2 separate regions of the Homo sapiens genome follow, and region 1 is linked to region 2. The links are contacts of gene promoters, found by promoter capture Hi-C in blood cells and fetal thymus (Javierre and others, 2016). All regions are on one chromosome and are shown on one strand. Each heading gives the region's core, a stretch centred on a gene start or on the middle of the fragment in contact. The rest is flanking DNA. Distances are from core to core; before and after follow the strand shown.

What was found. Contacts are between HindIII fragments. The CHiCAGO score rates a contact against its expected background, and 5 or more counts as called.
Region 1: a contact is called between a fragment that was not itself captured here and the fragment with the promoter of PCMT1 in region 2, in 1 of 17 cell types (activated CD4 T cells). The highest score is 6.9, in activated CD4 T cells.

What each region holds. Positions count from the first base shown.
Region 1 is chr6:149,022,193-149,026,938 of GRCh38, forward strand. The region is part of intron 7 of UST (uronyl 2-sulfotransferase); the gene reads left to right. Among named protein-coding and RNA genes, the nearest start is that of UST-AS2, 8.1 kb to the right of the region's middle. The HindIII fragment of the contact is 1,605 bases long and covers 1,583-3,187 here.
Region 2 is chr6:149,748,392-149,752,697 of GRCh38, forward strand. It overlaps PCMT1 (protein-L-isoaspartate (D-aspartate) O-methyltransferase), which reads left to right and starts at 1,350. Exons shown (of 8, transcript NM_001360452.2): 1 at 1,350-1,565. The coding sequence starts at 1,511. It also overlaps a transcript of NUP43 not described here. RefSeq lists enhancers at 350-1,315, 2,281-2,783, 2,784-3,286 and silencers at 1,100-1,489, 1,720-1,956, 1,882-2,176. The HindIII fragment of the contact is 1,314 bases long and covers 712-2,025 here.

The DNA of each region.
Region 1 (4,746 bases), core at 1,135-3,634, 730 kb before region 2:
ATTCTCCTTAATCTACTGCTGTGACAACAAGCCTTGAATACACATTCAGTGATCTGTTTATTGTTCTGTTTTGTTGTCCTGAGATGGAAGAAGGCATTCTGCCCTGTAGAAATAAGCAGCAGATAGGCCCGGTGCGGTGGCTCATGCCTATAATCCCAGCATTTTGGGAGGCCGAGGCAGGTGGATCACCTGACGTCAGGAGTTCGAGACCAGCCTGGCCAACACGGAGAAACCCTGTCTCTACTAAAAATACAACAATTAGCCAGGTGTGTTGGTGGGAGCCTGTAATTCCAGCTACTCGGGAGGCTGAGGCAGGAGAATCGCTTGAACCTGGGAGGTGGAGGTTGCAGTGAGCCAAGATCGCGCCACTGCACTCCAGCCTAGGCGACAAGAGCGAAACTTCATCTCAAAAAAAAGAAAGAAAGAAAGAAGGAAGCAGCAGATGAAAGCTCCCCAAATGCAGTCTGCTGCCTCACATTCCACAGGGTTCCCGAACCCCACCTGCATCACTGGTAGGTCCCAAGGCCCAGGGAAACTGGTCTTTGCCCAGAGAGCCCTGGATCCCGTTGCACAAGGTCAAGGTGGCCCTACCACCATCAGGGACTTGCTGAAGGAAGGTGGATAGTTGGTGGAGGCTGCCTTAGCCTCCCAGCTCTCATTAGAGTTCAAATCCCATTTACCTGAGTGGGGTTGTGAAACTAGGATTTCCTTTGTCTTTTCAACAACAAGCCATTTAAAGAGTTTATAGAATTTTAATGTAAAGAGTTTGATGTGACTGATTTTTATTTCTAGAAGACAACATAAACTCCGTTCTTTGTGCAAGGAGAGGTCTTATCCTAAATTAGACTCCTTTGAAGAAGAAAGGTTTATGTTAATCATTTTCTCCTTTTGGCTTTATCTTGTTCTATGGTGTGTGTGTGTGTGTGTGTGTGTGTGTGTGTGTGTGTGTGTGTGTGTGGTGTGGTGTGGTGTGTGGTGTGTGTGTGTCTAATACACAGTCTGAGATAAAGGGCAAACTAAATCCTGGTGACACATAAGATGAACACTCTCCATAAAAGATATTATGGCTTCCAACTTTGTTACTGTCTGCTCAGTCATTTGCTCTGAGAGAGATCAGCTGCTATGGATGAAGAGAGGTTCACATAGTGAGGAACTGAGACCTCAGACCAAGAGCCACGTGTGTGAGCCATCTTGGGAGCAGCTACTATGACCCCAGTCAAGCCTTCAGATAACTGCAGCCCCAACCAACATGTTAATGGCTGTCTCATGAGAGATCCCAAGCCAGGACCACCCAACTAAGCTACCCCTGAATTTCTGACCCTCAGAGCCAGTGTACGAAATAAATGTATGTGTTTTTATTTTATTAATATTGTTTATTTTAATGAGCACTCTCTTGTCCCAGCATTTGGGAGGAGGAGCCAACGTGAGAGTCCTCTTCCAGTTACATCACCATCCATCCTGAGGTCTGGAACACACACCATTCACAGGATGCAAAACCCAGCACAGGGGTTGTGGACCTGAGAACCTAGATGAGGGTATTTTTATCTTCATGCTTTTGAATACAGATAAACCACCTATAAAAAGCTTAGCCCAGAGGACCCACTTAGTGGCTCTTGTCGTGGTATATCATATTGACTTCCTATTTTCTCCATTTAAATATGTGTCTTCTCAGAAATTATGGGCCTTTATTCCGTGATCTGAAAGTTCGTTAATTCAAGGAGAAAAGATTTCTGAAAACCAAGTTACTATTAACTCTTTTACCTTCAGCCATGATCTTTCCACCTATAAATTAAAGATTATTTTTCCCTCAGAGTTTGGCATAGTAAATATCTCAAAGAGAATAAAGGACATCTGGTTTTCCTGTGTAGTGGGATGAAAGGTTTCCATAAGCCAGGCCACTTGGCCAGTCCACGTGGTCCAGCTGGACTAGCGGTTAAAACAGTGAAACACTTCTATACGGCCTTCAGGGTGCACCTGCCAGCCTGGCTGCCCGTCCTTGTTACCCCCGCCTTTTCCAACAGTGATGTAACGGAAGGACTAATTCATGGCACAAGAGGGATCTTCAGGACCCCGGGCCAGTGTCACACTCAGTGACTGTTCTGAGTTCAGTTCTTGAGTGGAGCTGGTTGTCAAATACTTTAAATATCACCCTAGCATAACTCTCTCAGCTGCCACACATTATATGCCCAATAAAATGAACCTTTGAGTTGTTGCTTCAGTAACTTCTACTGTGTTTTGTGTTCTCTTGGGCATCTTCTTGTGATATGTTTCTATGGTAACATTGAAGACCAAGCTAGTCCACAGTTCCTCTATCCCAACAAGTTTCCGTGTCCCCTGAGGCAGAGGACAAGAGATCAACACACACTCCTGGCCAGTTTCTCAATATATTTTAGCCTCAGGGAAGACTTAGCACCCATATTGTTTTCTCATCACCACAACTGAGTTGGTGTCAAGTAGGTTAAAGAAAGAATAGCTGCAAGTTTCTAGTTACTTCACCATCTCATCTTTGTATTTTTAGTCTAAGTTCATGTCTTAGGGCATACTAAAATCATTACTCTTTCCCTTTATTGAAGAGTTTGATAACTGAGTAGATTAGAGAACAGAGAGAAGAAAAGCTAAAATCTAAGATACTGATTTAAGGGATCTAGTGACCCTTAACTCATTGTAGATTAACTAACCATCTGAAGAGCTGAATTAAGATGCAAAAACACCACTGGCCATTTTTCTTTGGTGTTTGTCCTGTTATTGAAAAACAAAAACAAAAAAAAAAATAGGAGTTTGCTGACTTCTGGTAACTCCTCTCTAGCAATACTAAAAATATGTATACCAGTCTCATTACAGAAGAAAAAACACTAATAGCAATGACTCTTTGGAGAGCTAGTAAAAATCGTAATGTCTGTTAGTCATATGGGTTGTCACTTATTTCAGATTGAAATGATATTCATTGATTCTTTCAAATCAATACTACCTGTCCCAATAACTCACCATTTAGACAGGTTAATAACCTTTCTCAATAACAGCGTAACTGTCTTTTCTTCTGTTCCTTTCTTGTAGAAATATATGCTGACATCAAGTAAATTTGTCTCCTACCAAAAATATTGGAGAAACTTAGCCTTTAGAACTTTTTTTAAACAGTCATTTTATGTTAATATTTGCATTTTATGGAGACAGAATAGAGTATCTCAGAAGCTTAGGATAGTAAGTACTTGAGATGAAATAAAAATTAGAGTTTTAGCAAGATGGATAACCAAGAGAATATGCTTGGTATTTCTTCCAGCCGGTGCGCAGCTGCTGATATTAGGACAAGTACTGTGGAGTGGGCATTCAGAAAACACTGCTCAATCCTGACCATGAGTTTGAATTAGGGAGCACCAAGGCCCCAGCAGGTTTACTCGGTAGAAGCAACCTCACTGGTTGAACATATACATAATTATTACATATGATCACATATGTCATCTTATACATAATTATTTTTTATTGATTAATCCTTATTATGTTTGTTTATTACTTATCACCTTTTAAAAATGAGAAACTGAGGCCAGGTATAGTGACTTGCACCTGTAATCCTACCATTTTGGGAAGCCAAGGCAGACAGATCACTTGAGGCTAGGAGTTTGAGACTAGCCTGAGCAACATAGCAAAAGCTCGTCTCTACTAAAAATACAAAAAAAAAAGTCCAGGCGTGGTGGCTCACACCTGTAATCCCAGCACTTTGGGAGGCCAAGGTGGGTGGATCACGAGGTCAGGAGTTCAAGACCAGCCTGGCCAACATAGTGAAACCCCATCTCTACTAAAAATACAAAAAATCAACTGGGCATGGTGGCAGGTGCCTGTAATCCCAGCTACTCTGGAGGCTGAGACAGGAGAATTGCTTGAACCTGGGAGGCAGAGGTTGCAGTGAGCAGAGATTGCACCACTGCACTCCAGCCTAGGTGACAGTGTGAGACTCCATCTAAAAAAAAAAAAAAAAAAAACAGGCCTGATGGCATGTGCCTGTGGTCCCAGCTACTGGGCAGGCTGAAGTGGGAGGATCACCTGAGCCTTGGGGAGGTCGAGGCTGCAGTGAGCTATGATGATCGCACCCATTGCACTCTAGCCTAGGTGACAGAGCAAGACCTTGTTTCAAAAATAAAATAAAAGTAAAAATGAGAAACTGAAGCCAGCCCAGAGAAGTTGAGAGAATGATCCATAGTCATCCACAAAAATGTGTAAGTAAGGGGCAAGACTCACATATTTCTGAGCAGTGAATATTAATGTATTTCTGAACACTTTTTCTCCTTAACTCTTAAAGACATGCTGTGAGCCATCAGTATTTTTCTAGTCATAATTTTTAGGAGCTAAAATCTCAGTGGTGGTAAGGGCCAAAATAAATAAGCACATGAAAGACAAGGAACATGTGAATATGTGTAATAGGAACAGTCATATGAGCATCCCTCTATAAACCCTTGACTTGGCAAATAACCGAGCTGTTCTGGTTCAATAGCGCCACCTAGCATCCAGACATAGAACTCTATGACCTAATATTAACCCATTACCTTCTCCCTTCCTAGCGACTTGAAAACTCATGTGTCCAATCCTTTTACTTTGTGTTTTAAATACTTTCCATGACTAGCACTACATTAGTATTCATTTTCAACACGTTTCCATTACAAATGTAAACACTGGAGCCACAGTAGGGAATTTACTAGACTTTTGTGGGCTGCCTTAAGAATATGGTCACCAACTATTACAAAGGAAAAATATGTA
Region 2 (4,306 bases), core at 100-2,599:
TAGGTAATGTTGATTTTGGATTGGAAGCAGGCCAGTGTCACATTTTACAAAATCGGATAAGAACTAGAATTTGAAAATTGTGCTGATATAGTGGCACAGATGTCTTAGCTTTGTTTCCTTCTAAAAGATTACTGGAGGCCGGGCGCTGTGGCTCATGCCTGTAATCCCAGCACTTTGGGAGGCCGAGGCGGGCGGATCATAAGGTCAGGAGATCGAGACCATCCTGGCTAACACGGTGAAACCCTGTCTCTACTAAAAATACAAAAAATTAGCCGGGCGTGGTGGCGGGTGCCTGTAGTCCCAGCTACTCGGGAGGCTGAGGCAGGAGAATGGCCTGAACCTGGGAGGCGGAGCTTGCAGTGAGCCGAGATCGCGCCACTGCACTCCAGTCTGGGCGACAGAGCGAGACTCCGTCTCAAAAAAAAAAAAAAAAAAAAAAAAAAAAGTTACTGGACTAGATGATGGCTGGATTCTGTCAGTCTCAGGTCTAATTAGGAGTCAGCGATTTGGACGCGACAAGCAATGTTCTCAGTGAGCTTCTCACTCATGGTCTTGCAGAGCTGAGAGCAATAAAGCCACGGTGGAATTTGTGAGGCTTAATTAGGTGGAAATGCACACTTACGTCGGGAGAATAACACGTTCACCAAAGGACACAGTGGTATTTTTTAACCAATCGCAACTCTGTACGTTGGTATTATTCTAAGGGAGCAAAGCTTTGCCCCAACCCCCACCCCCATGTCCTGGTACTCTTCCACTCTGAGAGCTTTAGAACCGGGGTTCCAAAGTCTCTGCTTAGCCTAACAGTGACGTGCTTGTCACAAAGCCAGAGGCCGGTGTACTCGGGTTAGAGAGGGCCTTTGTCGTTGGGTTTTATTCTTATTGTATTATTCGGGCTCCACCGACCCAAATATTAGTCAACTGGGTTGGGCGAGGTAGGACGGATGAAGCCCACCGTCTAACAATCTGGACATCTATAGGAGCAGATCCGCCGCTCGAAACAGCTGACCCAGCGACGACTGCGGAACCACTAGCAGCGTCTGCACAGATCGACCCCGCCATCCCGCCGTCCCGCTCGGTGACCGGAGACACAGCCGGGAACGCGACTGATCAGGCTACCGAGCCGGGCCGCAGGGCGAAAGCGGTGCGGTCCGAGGCCTCAGAAAGGGACACGCAGCAGCGGAAGTGGCGCTGACTCAGCCCGGCCTCCCTGCAGTCCCCTGGCAGCGGTAGCAGCCACAGGGGCGGGCGGCTGGGCCACACGCCTCCCCCGCCCTCGGCCCCACCCGGCCGCACCCTAAGCCGCGCGGCGTCACAGAGCGCATGCGTGCCGCGGGGGATGCCGGGAGCGCGCAGTGGCGGCAGCGGCGGCGACGGCAGTAACAGCGGCAGCTACAGCGGGGACGCGAGCGGGGCGGTGACGGTGTGGGAGGTGGTCTCACTCTTGGGAAAACTGCTGGGCACCGTCGTCGCGCTGAAGGTGGTTCTGTACCTGCTCCGAGTGTGCTTAGCGATGGCCTGGAAATCCGGCGGCGCCAGCCACTCGGAGCTAATCCACAATCTCCGCAGTAAGTGCCACCTCCGCCCGTTGTAGGGCAGCTGGGGCAGGCTGGGCCTGGACCGGGTCCCCCTGGGCCGTCCGGAACGTTCTGTCTGTCCCCGCGCGCCTGTTGGAGGGCTTCGGCGCAGAGTTGCCCCGGTAGTCCCGAACGGCGTGCGCTTGCAGTCGCCTCCCTCGGGACCTGTCACTCGTCGACGACGTGGACTGGAAGGGGAGAGAAAGAGCCAGGGGCCGCTGCTGGTGGGGGCAGGGGCAGTCGTCTCCCTGCAGGCCCTGGGGGAGGGAGTGCAGTACAGGTGATGCTGCTGTCACTCAGGTCCGCGTCCGGGTCCGGCTTGTGAGGGGCGTGCCTTCGGGGTGGGAGCGTGTGGGCTAGGCCTTATGGAGAGTGGGCTGGCGCTCAGGAGACCCCACCCTCGTCCCCTGCATTTTTCTCACCTTCCTCCTCCATAATCAACCTCGCTGCAAGCTTTCCCTCTTATGCAGCCTCCCCCGCCCTCCGTTTTTTCCCCTGGAGGGAGATGCCACCGTCTGATACAGGCGAGGGGAGGAAGATGAGAGTATTGCCATTGCAGATGCTGGGAGAAATTTCTCGGGCGGCTGTCCAGTGGAAAGCTCCGTGCGGGGCGGAGAAAGAACAGGGGATGCTGTTCCTGAGAGACTTGTATTTCAGGAGCCTTTGCAGGTCCTGGATCAGCAGAGGGTTGTGTGTCTGATGTTCTAACTTTTTTCAGGGCTACCATAGGCTTTAAAAACCTTATGTGGAGTTTCTTTATATCACTCTCCTTAGTTACTGTATTCCTTCTTCTGATGATAATTTTAGGATAGGATGAGTGCTGTGTCACTTTCTTTTTTTAAATCGAAATATAGCGTCCCCGTTTTGTTGGGAGACTACAAGGGCCGCAGTCTATAATAAACTCACTGGTCAGAATTTATAGCATTATTCGCTACTATGCAGTAATCATATCTTGTCACATGGTATTTTTAATTGTCCTGTGTTACTTAGCTTTTCATGTGTTTGTCTTATTTCTCAACTCGATTTGTAATTTCCTTAACGGCTGGCACCATTAAAAAAAATTTTTTTTGGCCGGGCTCATTGGCTCACGCCTGTAATGCCAGCACTTTGGGAGGCCGAGGCGGGTGGATTACCTGAGTTCAGGAGTTCGAGACCAGCCAGGCCGACATGGTGAAACCCCATCTCTACTAAAAATACAAAAATTAGCCGGGCGTGGTGGTGCCTGCCTGTAATCCCAGCTACTTGTGAGGCTGAGGCAGGAGAATCGCGTGAACCCGGGACGGGGAGGTTGCAGTGAGCCAAGATCTTGCCACTGCACTCCAGCCTGGGCAACAAGGGAGGAAACTCCGCCTCAAAAAAAAAATTTTTTTTTGAATTTTCTCTAAGAATTTAACAGTCATCCCTTTTTTTCATAAATGCCCATTAAATGTCCGTTATATGCCTAAATCTGTGCTAGACAGACAAAGGTAATTGAGAGAAATTAGGAGTACTGTTTGGCACATGGTTGGTACTTTTTTTTTTTTTTTTTTTTTTTGAGACAGAGACTCCCTCTGTAGCCCAGACTGGAGTGCAATGGCGCGGTCTTAGCTCACTGCAACCTCCGCCTCCCAGGTTCAAACAATTGTCCTGTCTCAGCCTCCTGAGTGGCTGGGACTACAGGCGCCTGCCAGCACGCCTGGCTAATTTTTGTATTTTTAGTAGAGAAGGGGTTTCACTATGTTGGCCAGGCTGATGTCGAACTCCTGACTTCATGATCTGCCCACCTCGGCCTCCCAAAGTGCTGGGATTATAGGCGTGAGCCACCGCGCCAGGCCGGTACTTGATATATTAGTCATTTTGGATTTTTTTTTGGTGGGGGGACAATACTTAATGTGGAAACTGAGTCTTTAGTGTTTGGTAAGAGAGAATGTTGATTATTTTTTTTTTTTAGACAGGGTTTCACTGTCACCCAGGTTGGAGTGCAGTGGTGTGAGCTCGGCTCACTGCAACCCCTGCTTTCTGTGCTCAAGCGATTTTCCCACTTCAGCCTCCTGAGTACAGTGGTGCCACCATACCAGGCTAATTTTTAGGGTTTTTTTTTTTTTTTTGGTAGTTTATGAGATGGGGTCTTGCTATGTTGCCCAGGCTGGTCTTGAACTCCTGGACTCAAGCAATTTGTTGGACTCAGGCTCCCAAAATTTTGGGATTACAAGAGTGAGCCACCGCACCTGGCCATGGTGAATGTTTAGATGTCAACATTTTTTTTTTTTGAGACAGAGTTTTGCTCTTGTTTCCCAAGCTGGAGTGCAATGGCGTGATCTTGGCTCACTGCAACCTCTGCCTCCTGGGTTCAAGCGATTCTTCTGCCTCAGCCTCCCGAGTAGCTGGGATTACAGGCACCCACTACCACGCCTGGCTAATTTTTAGTATTTTTAGTAGAAACGGGGTTTCACTATGTTGGCCAGGCTGGTCTCAAACTCTTGACCTAAGGTGATCTGCCTGCCTCGGCCTCCCAAAGTGCTTGAATTACAGGTGTGAGCCACCACGCCCAGCCTAGATGTCAATATTTTGTCAAGCATTGTCAGGTTCATTTTATGGAATGATGCTTGATTGGAAATGGACATTTATGTGCTACAACAGTAGTATGAAGTATGATTTGGGTTCTCATGGATGGCACATAAGCTCAATATGTTGTAAATATTTTTTACGAAATCCCTTAACATGATCTCAGTGCCTTCTATTGCAGTATATGT